Linked DNA regions of Homo sapiens: region 2 is linked to region 1. The links are contacts of gene promoters, found by promoter capture Hi-C in blood cells and fetal thymus (Javierre and others, 2016). All regions are on one chromosome and are shown on one strand. The core of a region is centred on a gene start or on the middle of the fragment in contact, and the rest is flanking DNA. Distances in the headings are between cores, read along the strand shown.

Region 1 (6,759 bases), core at 2,910-5,409:
GTGGCTCATGCCTGTAATCCCAGCACCTTGGGAGGGCAAGGTGGGAGGATTGCTTGAGCTCAGGAATTGGAGACCAGCCTGGGCAACACAGTAAGACTCCGTCTCCATGAAAACAAAAAAAATAGTTTCGTAAAATGAAGAGTTCTTGAGATTGGATGTACCATGTGAATGTACTTAACACTTCTGAACTATACACTTAAAAATGAGTAAGACGGTAAATTTATCTTATGTGCTATTTTACCACAGTTGGAAGAAAACTTCATCTCTCATCAAATTAATCTTTTACTTTCCGTATCTTAGAACCTTGTCAGAAGCTTTAGGGTCATTTAAATATCATTTTTAAAAAATCCCTGGTACCAATTTTACTCTTTTTAAAAAATGCGTTTTGTACACAAATCTGCTTCCAAGAGATATAAATTCCTGTTCTAGTGTCACAGAAATTCAATTAACTACGTATGTGCTGGAGTTGATTCCCAATAAATATAGCAAAGTCCTATTACGTACATAAAACCCTCAACGCATACTCACTGAATTCAATTAATAACTGTGAACTTGGGCTTGCCATTGTTAGTTAACTGTGTATTGAAGGAAGTCACAGACATAACTCAGGGAGCTGGCTAACCTAATTGTGGGCCTTGTACAGACCTGGCTGCCTCACTTTCCTTCCTTATAAATGGGGGAGTTGAACAGGCCTCTAAAGCCCATAGGAATCTGAGATGATAACTTCTGAGACACTCATTTCAGAAGAACCTCATGTACTGTGGCCTCTGTCTCCTGCGTTGATGTTTTTTCAGTTCACCTTTGTCTGTGTTCAGCATAAGACACAAGCTCCAGAAGGGCAGGCACTTTGTCTCATTCACTGATGTATCCCAGTGCTAACAACAGGGCCTGGGAATAATCACAGCTGCCACATACACATACTCTTTAATATGTCTCCATAACAGAAAATTTCTTCTTTAAAAATAATCACATTCAAAAATGTACATCCATTTTAATGTAGAATAATATTTTGAAAAGTTAGCAGGAATCAATTTCAATACGATTATTGAAAAATTCCTTAATTATTAATAGGAACAAGTGTTCAACTAAGTCACTGGTAGAGCAATATCCAAAATCCTTCATTATTTTTTTTTCATGGCTCTATTTTGGAAGAAACACAACTCAAAAAATAATAAGCCATTATATTATGGTCTACTCCAATGTGAAATAAGTGCATGACATTTGGCAATAAATCTAGCACCTTTGGATCTTAATACTGCATCAACAGTCAGACCCAAAGCTTCTTAGAGCAAAGCAGCAAATCTTTTATTTACACAGCTGTTTGGCTCCAGGGAAATATAAGGTAAGAAAGTAAAGCACTAGTACCATTTTACTAACTATTACAAACATACTCGTCATCTGTTACACACAGATGGCTGTGGTTCACGTGTACACTCTCTGGCTACTGGACCAGCCAAAACGCAAAGCACAGACAATGAAGACAGTGACCTGTACATGTTCAAAAGGACACAAAATATATACCTATATATACCTATAATTCTCTCTCCTTTTTTCTTTTTTTTTTTTTTTTTTTGAGATGGAGTCTTGCTCTGTCACCCAGGCTAGAGTGCAGTGGCTCGATCTCGGCTCACCACAACCTCCGCCTCGCTGGCTCAAGCAATTTTCATATCAGCCTCCCGAATAGCTGGGACTACAGGCGCACCCCACCACACCTGGCTAATTTTTGTATTTTTAGTAGAGACAGGGTTTTGCCATGTTGGCCAGGCTGGTCTCAAACTCCTGACCTCAAGTGATCCACCCGCCTTGGCCTCCCAAAGTGATGGAATTACAGGCTTGAGCCACTGCGCCCAGCCTCTCCTTTTTCATATACAGCTTAAAATAATTCTGAAATCTCCACTAAGGGCAGATTATTTTATAGATGTAGAAAAACAAAGCAAGCTTTTCTGCTGGATACATATAACCTAGATGTTCTACAACATTCCTTTTATTTTCTTAAATTAAACCAACCCTTCCAAATACCACAGATTAGATTCAAAAGCAAAAATCCCCTCCCTTAACTTCAAGTAACTTTCCTAAACGTTTCAATGAATTTGACTATTGTTCCCAAAAAGCACCATAATCAGCTTGTAAGAACTATGTATACATATAAGAATGGGTAGAAATAAAACCCCAGTTCTCTTCCATATTCCCCATCTAGACACCAGAAAGAATTATGATAAATCCAACAGATGGGTGAGCAAAAAAGTAGTTGATGCTTCTCAGCCAGCAATGCTAAAAACCAACCAACTCGGCTAGACACAGGAAGTGTCCCACTTTAAACACCACAAAAATTTCTGTGGATTTCTTTAATTGTAAAGTTGATAAAATACAAAAATAGCTTGCATTATTTTAGGATAATTCAAATGCAAGAATCATGAACTTCCAGTCTGGGCCCTAGAAATTGGGTTTACATAAATGTGAAATTACATGCTTCTGTGCCTGTTCCTTATAAACTGTTAAGACTGGAATTGAAAACTGATACATATAAGACACGGTTATTTTAAATACATTTGACACCTCCAAAAAGGAAAGAGCTAAAACTGGCTGGAAGGATTTTAAAATTTCCAACCACTTTTAATTTAAATCAATTTCTTGAACGAAGGTAAGGCACAGAAATGTAGGATGAAAATAATTTACCTTATGTAAGTATAAAGCCTCCCTTTGGCAAAGAAAAGAGAGTTTATAAAGATATCTCATATAAGTGCATATAACATCAAAAAGGAAAGACCCACACAACACCCACTTCTTGCTTTCTTTTCCTATTGGCTAACTTCTTGTTTCGTTTGTTGTAATCTGATCACAGGGAGCAATGCAACACTACAATATATCTAGGCTTTAGAAATAATACAAATCAGAACATTTGAGTGCTGTTGGACAGTTTCAAGTTGCAAGAATTTTAAACAAATGCCAAGAAAAGCAATGAAAATTTAATCTGATACTTAAGTGCTGATTCTGGAAGTAACCTTGAGAAGAAGCTTTAAACTATTTCACTATAAAATTTCTAATGAAAGTTTCAACGTGGACAAAAACGTAAAATAACCCATAACACTCTACTTAATACATAAGTTCTGGTTTAAAAATTAACCTATGTACTTACGAAGTGAACGTAACACCACTTTGGTAATTATTTTGTAAAACAGAAATTGTTCCTTAAGAATGTTCAGAAACACAACGTCTAGAATTGCTGAAAATCCACACAAAGATAGAGGCTTTGTCATTTGGATGAAGGGGAAAGAACTATGGGAGGCAGACAGAAAATAAAGCTTTGTTTACCCTAATCAGGTAGAAACAAACAAAATAATTGTAATTGGGTGCAGACAAGCAAAAAAAAAAAAAAAAAAAAAACCTCAACAATCTCAACTCCTCTGCTTCTCAGGTAACAGAGGTAAAACCACCAGGACATGACAATGTCTACGCCTCTTTAAAATGGGTAAAAGGTTTACCAGCAGATACAAGGTTGAAAGCGACTCACTTAGTGGCCAAATTGAACACGCTGAGAACACTGCCTTTACCTATAATAACTGATCTATTAACTTGGGAATCTACACTATTTTCACATGCAAAGGCGAAGTCCTCGCACTGCTGGAGAGATGAGCGAACGCCCTTCACACATCGCATTTCACCTGGTGCAGAGCCCCCAGCACAGTCCCCCTTGGAAGGGAGATCCCGAGAAATCCCGGGTTTCCAAACAGCCCCTCTGGGCAGGAAAAGACGAGAAAGCCGGCAGCGAATCCCATTAGCTCCGCGCTTGCCGAGGTGCTCGGCAAAGGTACGGGGCACACAACTCGCCCACCCCGGCGAAGAAAGTTGCTCGCGAGCCCAAGCCTAGCAGCGCTCGCCACAAACTTTCCCGCGGCAGCGCGAGCGCCGTCACTTACCGGCTGCAGAAGTCATGATTCCCCGGTGCAGCTCGCTTCCCCGCTCGGCCCCTCAATCCATCTTCCCCTTTCAGTCCATTGTTCCCACAGTTCGGGTAGGAGAGAAAAGCCCCCGCAGCGCCCACATTCCGTCCCGCCGCCCCGCGGCGCAGCCTGAGCGCCACACAAAGGACGCGGCCGACTCTAGCGACCCTGCGGCGCTCCCGGGCGCGAGCCGCCGGGGTCGGGCGGGCGAGCACTAGCACCGCCCCGCAGAGCGGCAGGCTGACAGCCAGGCGCGGGCACGAGCAGTGCTCTCTTCGGCTCCGCTGGCGCGTGCCCTTCTCGGGCTCCAAAAATCAGCAGTGCTCCGGGCGCCCCCTGCTAGTCGCGGCCGTAAAAGGCAGACAAAAGCCCTAGCCTCCTCCAATCGGAGGGCTCGAGCTTCAGCTCGCTCCCGCCTCTCTCGCTTACACGCTCACTCTCTTCTCCAATAAGCGGGCTCGAAAAGGGGGCGTGAGCGGCGAGGCATATTGGGAATTGTAGTTTTCTGGACCCACGGGACGGGCAGGAGCTGGAGCTCCGTGCCGCCTGTACTCCCGCCTTCATTTCCCATCGTGCTGAGGCGGGTGGCATGGCGGAGAAGGATGACACCGGAGTTTGACGAAGAGGTGGTTTTTGAGGTAAGAGGAAAATGGCGGTGGGTGTGGATTGCCTTTGTTTGAGAAGGACGAGACGGAAATCGAGGAAGCAAGGCGTTCCCGGGGCGAGGGATCGGGTGACGCGCTCCAGCTGGCCTCGACCACCGAACCCCAGCGATTTCAGGGCCTAGAGTCCGTCGTCGCCTGACAGGTGTAGCCAGAGGCGCCCTGGCCGTGGCCGGCCTCTATCTCGGGCCCGCCCAGAATTCCCAGACGGTGCCCGGTTGCCAGGCTCTGGGCTGGAGCGGTGTCTCTTCCTTCCTGGGAATGGATGTGCGGCGGGGGGGACTGCGCCCGGCTGGGGCGGGGCCGAATCGTGCCTTTTAGATAGTCACAACTTAGCCTCCTCCTTTTCCATCCGCGATTTTTTTGGGTCAGTATCCAGAGTGCTTCAGGTCACTGTTCACCGTCAAGGCGTGGCCCTCGGAATGAAGGCAGCAGGTGCCCGTTTTCTAACACGGTTTAAAGTCTATTTGTGGGACCTACTGTGGGTAGTTAGGGCCAGGGCATCTCAGCATCTAGATTCGATTCTTTTGTCCTTTGCTGTTGCGCTAGGTGTAGCCAGTTCTTCTGACTCGGGGCTCTAGATGTGAGTGCTTTTGTGTGGGACTATTTTAAGACGTTCTCTGCCATCTTGAATGAAAAAAATCGGGCGAGTGTTTTTGATGCCATTTTTTTCCATCAGACACAGGTCAAAACTCGCACCCCTGTACGTATGTGTATTGCATGTATACGCTTTACTTTCATTTATCCAACTAGATTTTAAGAAAATTTAAAAATGAAGTGGCCCATGCCATACAGCGAGAGAGCGAGGCACAGACAGGACAGAATGCTAAATGTTGAAATATGTACAAACTGTCATTGAAGGATTAATTTCTGTTCTTGCGGCCTCCCAGAGGCTACACCCAGTACGCGATATCCGAGGTGAATCTTTAACTATGAATTGGATTAGAAAAACCGGCAGGAGAAAATGTATTACAGGGAAAGAGAACTGATTATGCCAAGCTTGGGAAGTGTGAAAGTACCTGGTGTGCATTTTTAGGGGGCGGGGTGTGGAGGGTGGCTATGTAAAGTGGCTTGATGTGGCTGCAATGAAGAAGCAGTGGAAAATGTGGCCATTTTACCGAAGTGAAGAGTCTAGATATGAGGCGTTCATTAGGGAAGACAAGGGCCTGAGATGAAATGAGAGACGTAATGGAATAATGGCTTGGACAGACACTTGTAAGTTAAAATCGAGGCAATGTTTATAGATTGAATGTGGTAGCTGAAGGAGAGAGAAATATTTTCTAGAGTAAGGGTAACTGATGGGTGTATTTTTTTTACCCATTATTTTTGATTTCTGAATATAATAGTAATATATGCTCAAGGAACATTTTATTGTAGAAAATAAGCCCCCAAGTTAAAATCATCCATTATCCCACCACCCAAAGATGGTAACTATTAACAGTACGGTATGTGTTCTTATAGACTTTATTTCTATGTAAATGTGTGTTTATGTGTGTGTAATTTTTTAGCCTCTATATTAAGACACAATGTGTGTGTGATATTTTTTAAAACAAAAGGTATACCACGTAGAATTTTGTATATATTTTTCACTTGACTTTATCGTGAATCTTTTCCCATTCATCATTCTCTGAAAACATTAATATTATAATATCCCCTCACGTGTATCATAATATAACCTTTTTTTAAAAAAATACCATTGTAATCAACAGTGATATAAGCCTATTTTTAACTACAACTCTGATTTTCCTCAGAATAATTTTTAGAAGTAGAACTAGTGGGTGAAAGAATATGAACATTTAAGACTTACGCAGAAAGGTTATACCAATTCCGGTTTCCATTAAGAATAAGAGAGTATTGGTTTCACCAAATCCTCAACAACAGCCTTAACAGTTTCCTTTAATCTTTGCTAATTTGATAGGCAAAAATAACATTCCATTGTTTTAATTTACATTTTATGCATTTATACATTTATTAGCTATTTTTATTTCTTTGAACATTTCTCTTCATATTTGTTGCTCATTTTCTTATTAGATGCTAGCTTTAAAAAAATTGACTTGCGTGAGTTCTTCATATATTACTAAGCCTTTGTCATACTTGCAGAAAAATTTCCAGTTTGCTGTTTGTTTGCTCTTTGATATACACAATTTTTATTGCAG
Region 2 (6,759 bases), core at 1,272-3,771, 3.4 Mb after region 1:
GTGCTACATTTGGTGACTTCAAAAACAGTCATTGAAGCTTGATAATTATTGCCCCCTTCTGTGAGCTCCAAGTTACTTGTGCTCTGTTTTTGCACTTCGGGCATTCACATTCCCACTCTCTCTCTCTTTTTCTTCTTTGAGTAGACTGTGAATTATTTCAGGCAAATGACTCAATCTTTTCTGTAGTCTTGGTGTCTGACATATAGGGAGGGGCACAAATGTGTATTGAATGAATGAATTGATAAACCCGTTTAGACTCTTTCACTCTATACATTGTGTAAAGTTCTGTTAATGTTTTGAAAACTTGCAGATATTGTGAACTGGGTTTTATGCCCATGGAAAAATTTGCATTATATTTGAAATAAAGTTGCTAGAAACGTCAAGTATTTTACTATAAAGGCTGTTATTCTTTCCTCATGTCCTCCTGGTCTGAGAAATCACATCAGAAAGTGTTTCCTGTTGCTTTGTGGGAAATGTGTTTAGCAAGGAGGACCTAGAGCTGACATCCTCCTTGAACGAGAACTAATACTCAATAGTAACAATGCTCTATTCACTCTTATGTTTGATAAGGAAAACAAGAAGTCTCTTAATATTAGGACTTCAATGTAATCACTATTTTATACAATCTTAATTAAAAAAGGAAGTATTTTATTGTAAGAAATGATAATGTGTGCTAAAAAAAATTGACAGTAGAGGCCGGGCATGGTGGGGCTCACAAGTGTAATCCCAGCACTTTCGGAGGCTGTGGCGGGTGGATCACCTGAGGTCAGGAATTCAAGACCAGCCTGGTCAACATGGTGAAACCCCGTCTGTACTAAAAAAAAAAAAAAAATAAGACAAGGTGGGGGAGAAATCCCAAATTTTGCTACTCAGAAGTAACTCAAACATTTCGATGAATAAACTTCTAAACGTCTATATATATTCATATGATACCAACACTTGTTTTTTTTTTTGAGACAGAGTCTCAGTCTGTCGCCCAGGCTGGAGTACAGTAGAGTGGTCTCGGCTCACTGCAACCTCTGCCGCCCTGGTTCAAGCAGTTCTCTTGCTTCAGCCTCCCGAGCAGCTGGGATTACAGGCACCTGCCACTGCATCTGGCTAATTTTGTATTTTTAGTAGAGACAGGGTTTCACCATCTTGGCCAGGCTGGTCTTGAATTCCTGACCTCGTGATCCACCCGCCTCGGCCTCCCAAAGTGCTGGGATTACAGGCATGAGCCACTGCGCCCGGCCCCCACGTTATGTGTTGTATGTGGGATCATGTTTCTGTTTTTTTTTTTTTTTTTTTTCAGCAACAGTATTATGAACATCTTTCCATGTCAATACATGGAGATATGTGTCATAATTTTGAATGGCTGCATAATATTCCATTTTATATACATACCCTAATTTTTAAAATCTATATTCAGAATGATGGACATTTAGGTTGCGTTCATCACTGAAACATCCTCCATTAATTCTTTTTTCTTTTTATTTTTTACTCTAGCCTCCCAATGTGCTGGGATTATAGGCTTGAGCTACCACACCTGATTGGAAACTCATTAATTCTCCTTGTGGATATTTTTACATATGTATTTGAATGTCTCCTTGAAGTAAATCCTTAGAAATGGGATTTCTGGGTTAGAGAGAAAGCTTATTTTAAACAATTCCATATCTTACTGCTTTCCAGAAAAATTGCATTCATTTTCTAGTTTCCCCAATTAGTGCATAAGAATGGCCATTTTCTCATACCTTTCCAAGCACTGGGTTTTGTCCATTTAAAAATTTTTGCCAAGGAAAAAAAATCAGTTTTGTTCTTTTTACGTTTCTTGTTTATTAGTGAGATTATGTATCTTTTCATATTTTTATTGGCCTGACAAATATTTTGGTGTTTTGGCTGTAGCTCATGGTTGACAGCTCAGAGAGAGAAAGATCTGAGGGAAGATGGATGCAAAAGCTCGAAATTGTTTGCTTCAACATAGAGAAGCTCTGGAAAAGGACATCAAGACATCCTACATCATGGATCACATGATTAGTGATGGATTTTTAACAATATCAGAAGAGGAAAAAGTAAGAAATGAGGTAAAGCTCTCTGAAGCAGTCCACACTTCCTTAAAAATTTTTAGAATTTCAGAACTTGTACTGGTCTCCACTACTTTATGTTGCATACATATTCATTGTTGTATACTAAACTACTTAATTTTTTTTAGCCCACTCAACAGCAAAGAGCAGCTATGCTGATTAAAATGATACTTAAAAAAGATAATGATTCCTACGTATCATTCTACAATGCTCTACTACATGAAGGATATAAAGATCTTGCTGCCCTTCTCCATGATGGCATTCCTGTTGTCTCTTCTTCCAGTGGTAAAGATTCAGTTAGTGGAATAACTTCGTATGGTTTGTATCCATTATACCTTCTATCACTTTGCTATCAAAATTGCTTTGGGTTTGTCTTATTGTAGATGTAATCTTTTGAAGAGAGTGTGACCAGTTCACTGAAAACTGCATGTTAAAAAAATTGTAGTGATGTTTTCAATTTAAATATTTTTTATTTGCATCCACATTAACTCTCAACTTTTCTTCTTGCCCAGTGAACTGTACTGCTGAGATAATAATATGTCTACCCTAATTTTTAGAGACAATAAGACAATTTATAGGCCCTTGTTTATTTTCCAGTTCTATGTGTTTATAGAGTTTATAGGAAAAAATAAGAATCTTTAGAAATATATGTTCTTGAAAGGTATTCCATAAATGTTCTTCCTTTTACACTTGCCTTCCCAGTCTTCAATATGAGAGGGAATGAAAAGTCAGGAAATAATTGGGTGAGTAAAGCAGATATAGATAGAAACTTCCATTTTCTTTAGTCATCTTGAAGGATATATGTTTGTCTTTGCTCTCTGTTGTCTGAGAAATCAGAAAATTGAAGTTAATATGCTAGCCACATTTTCTTAACTTCTCTTGGAAATTTTCAGGCTAAGCCTCAGCTTTGCTCTTTGTTTTTTATGGTATTACTTCAGTAATTATTCCAAAGTTCTATTCATTCATGCTTGTTTTGTTTTGGATTTTAGTAAGGACAGTCCTGTGTGAAGGTGGAGTACCACAGAGGCCAGTTGTTTTTGTCACAAGGAAGAAGCTGGTGAATGCAATTCAGCAGAAGCTCTCCAAATTGAAAGGTGAACCAGGATGGGTCACCATACATGGAATGGCAGGCTGTGGGAAGTCTGTATTAGCTGCAGAAGCTGTTAGAGATCATTCCCTTTTAGAAGGTAAGTGTCTTAGTCCATTTCATAGTCTAGTAAGGTAGATAGACATGTAAAAATATTATGATATATCAATACGTGATAAATTGAATGGTAGAAACAAGTATAAGGTACAGAGTTAGAACAAAGGAAGGATATGTTAACTCTCTGAAGGGAGGGGATGGATAGGACAAGCTTCCTGAATGAGATGACATCTTAGCAGGAGTTTGGAGAAAGAATAAAAGTTAGCTAGGCAGTGAAGGTAGGGATGGGAGACTAGGGAAGGTGGGAAAGGTAGTGGGTGGTTACTGGGGTGGGGAAGGGCATACTGGGTAGAAGAGGGTTTAAGAAATGTTGGCAGGTATACCACTGACCTTAGCGATCCTGGTAGGTTCTCAGGGTATTCATCAGGAATAGTTGTATAGCTCCATCAGTTCTAGGCTGCCCCCATTCATCAGTGTGTTCTCATTCATCAGTGTGTTCTCTCTGTATGACACTTCTAGGGGAATTCAAAGACAGTTCCCAACTTCTAGTAGTTAATAATTTTTTTTTTAGTAGGCCAGGCACGGTGGCTCATGCTTGTAATCCCAGCTGAGGCGTGGATCACCTGAGGTCAGGAGTTCAAGACCAGCCTGGGCAACATGGTGAAATCCCGTCTCTACCAAAAATACAAAAAAAATCAGCTGGGTGTGGTGGTGAGCACCTGTAATCCCAGCTACTCGGGAGGCTGAGGCAGGAGAATCACTTGAACCTAGGAGGCGGAGGTTGCAGTGAGCTGAGATCGCACCACTGCACTCCAGCCTGGTCAACAAGAGCAAGACTCCATCTCAAAAAAAAGTTTTTTGTTTTTTTTTTTTTGATATGTATGTATAACATGATCTACGGTTAAGACAGTTTAGACAGAATGATTGGAATAAGTAGTAAGCCTCTAAGAGACTTAGAAATATGGAGGCTAGGGTATATCTATGTGTACACATGGCCTCAGTTTAATTTCATAGCCTTTGTAAGTGGTATAGACTATACTCTTGTCAGAAGTATGCCTGATTCCTAACCCTTGGTTTTTCCCCTCTATCATTACAGAGAAGTTTCCTGAGACTTAGCTCCTTTCAAGTCTCAGAGCCAAGGATTTTTTTAAGCCCCTACTGCAAAGTTGATCACTAAGGATATTTCAGGATAAATTTAGCTTAAGTTCCTTTAGTGTGAAGGAATGAGTTTTCCTTTCAATATTATGAACTTTCTTTGTGTATTTATAATATTCCAATTTATAGGTTTAAAAGAACACTCCCTCTCCCCATTTAAATTGCTCTACATTATTGTGATGAATTTTCAATTCTAGGGATTAAAATTGACTAACAATCTATGGAATTAAATATTCAGGAGTCATATTGTATAAATTGTTATCTTGGAACAGGTTTTAACTACTTTGTTTTGAGAAAATCCTAGAGATACTGGCAACTGTACATGTGAGCTTAATTCATATTCCTCGTACTTTTGTGGGATCTCAAGTTCAGAGGACTGAGTTATTCATATTCCTTAGTTCACGGCTTATTATAGTAGATCTGTACTAGGCTGAGCTTTTCACTGTATTTATTTATTTCCATTTCAAAATTTCCTATTCTTATTTCCTTTCCCCTCTCCATGGACAATCCTAATGTATTTAATGTATGTTCTTTGTAAATGTCTGTGTAAAGTGTGTACTCTTGTAAAATATGTATGTTGTTGGTATGCAGGTATTTTAAATTTGCATAGATGTTATGGTATTATTCTGTTTTTTATCTCCCATGACACAATGTTTTTAAGATTTATCCTTGTTGCTATGTATACATGTTATTTGTTACACCTGATTGCCACCAACCCATTTTACTGCTCATTACCCTAAGTAAATGGATATGTAGATTGTATCCAACTCTCTGCTGCTGCAGCAAAGCTGGGTTGAACTTCTATGTGAGTAAGAATTTCTTGGGTATTTGTAGCTAGGAGCAAAATTAGTAATTATTTATTTATTTTTGTTTTTTTTTAAAGAGACAGAGTGTCACCCTGTTGCCCAGGCTGAGTGCAGTGGCCATATCATAGCTCACTGCAGCCTCAAACTTTTAGGCTCAAGTGATCCTCCCACCTTAGCCTCCTGAGGAGCTGGGTGCACACGCCACCATGCCTGGCTAATTATTTATTTATGAAACAGGGTCTTGCTTTGTCACCCAGGCTGGAGTGCAGTGGCACAATCTTGGCTCCCTGCAACCTCTGCCTTCTGGGCTCAAGTGATCTTCCCACCTCAGCCTCCGGAGTAGCTGGGACCACAGGTGCATGCTGACACACCCAGCTAATTTTTGTATTTTTTGTAGAGTTGGGGTTTTGTCATGTTACCGAGGTTGGTCTCGAACTCCTGAGCTCAAGCAATTCACCCACCTTGGCCTCCCAAAGTGCTGGAATTGCAGGTGTAAGCCACCATGCTTGGTGTGTTTTTAAACATTTTTTTGTAGAGACAGGTTTTTGCTATCTTGTCCAGGCTGGTCTCAAACTCCTGGGCTCAAGTGATGCTCCCGCCTTGGCCTCCCAAAGTGCTGGGGTTACAGATGAAAGTCACCATGTCCAGCCAAAATTACTAAATGATAGGATATACAAATACCAAATTTGATTCCCCTCCAGTCTGTACATTTCCCCCAGATGAGTATGGGGACTCCGATAATTCTACTTGTGCAGTGACGGTTGGTATGATCCAGCTTTGTAATTTTTGCCAGGCAAACTTCTATAAAGTTGTGTCTTTTACTTTGCATTTCTCTGGTAACTCAAGTTTGAACATTTCTTCATAAGCTTGTTGTTAGCCTTTTGGGTTTCTTTTTTTATGGATTTTGTTTATATTATTTGTCTATTTTCCATTGGGGTTTCCAATTTTTTTTTCTTTTTGCTTTTTAGGAGTTTCTTATATATTCTAGACATTAAACTTTGTTGGTTTTAGACTTTTATTTTATTTTATTTTATTTTTTTTGAGACGGAGTTTCGCTCTTGTTGCCCAGGCTGGAGTGCCATGGCGCGATCTTGGCTCACCACAATCTCTGCTTCCCAGGTTCAAGCGATTGTCCTGCCTCAGCCTTCTGAGTAGCTGGGATTACAGGCACCCACCACCACGCCTGGCTAATTTTGTATTTTTAGTAGAGACGGGGTTTCTCCATGTTGGTCAGGCTGGTCTCGAACTCCCGACCTCAGGTGATCCCCCTGCCTCGCCTCCCAAAGTGCTGGTATTACAGGCGTGAGCCACTGTGCTCAGCTGGTTTTAGACTTTTAAATACCTTATTTTAATTTGCCATCTGATTAATTTTTTTCCTGGGTGTTCTCAGTAGACGAGAACTCTGATGTAGTCAAACTAATCAGTTTTTTTTTTTGTCTTCTAACTTGTGTTTCCTGAGTTTTGTTCAAGTAGTCCTATTACAGTCTTATTATTCATATTTAGTTCTTTATTCTCTGGAGTCTGCCTTTGTATGTCCACTAATTCAAGAATAGGTGCTTTCCCAAAGATAAATTTTAATCTCTGGAGTTCACTT

Evidence for each region. Contacts are between HindIII fragments. The CHiCAGO score rates a contact against its expected background, and 5 or more counts as called.
Region 2: a fragment that was not itself captured here is called in contact with the fragment with the promoter of FGD6 in region 1 in 2 of 17 cell types (total CD8 T cells and naive CD4 T cells); the score reaches 7.8 in total CD8 T cells.

The regions. Positions count from the first base shown.
Region 1 is chr12:95,213,308-95,220,066 of GRCh38, forward strand. It overlaps FGD6 (FYVE, RhoGEF and PH domain containing 6), which reads right to left and starts at 4,160. Exons shown (of 21, transcript NM_018351.4): 1 at 3,918-4,160. The coding sequence starts at 3,933. It overlaps VEZT (vezatin, adherens junctions transmembrane protein), which reads left to right and starts at 4,500. Exons shown (of 12, transcript NM_017599.4): 1 at 4,500-4,579. The coding sequence starts at 4,544. RefSeq lists enhancers at 663-742, 3,824-4,418, 4,419-5,014, 4,479-4,718, 5,319-5,368 and a silencer at 4,019-4,248. The HindIII fragment of the contact is 2,300 bases long and covers 3,301-5,600 here.
Region 2 is chr12:98,646,438-98,653,196 of GRCh38, forward strand. APAF1 (apoptotic peptidase activating factor 1) reads left to right here. Exons shown (of 27, transcript NM_181861.2): 2 at 1,882-2,060; 3 at 2,189-2,378; 4 at 3,050-3,247. The coding sequence starts at 1,923. Among named protein-coding and RNA genes, the nearest start is that of APAF1, 4.5 kb to the left of the region's middle. RefSeq lists an enhancer at 2,926-4,125. The HindIII fragment of the contact is 1,784 bases long and covers 1,630-3,413 here.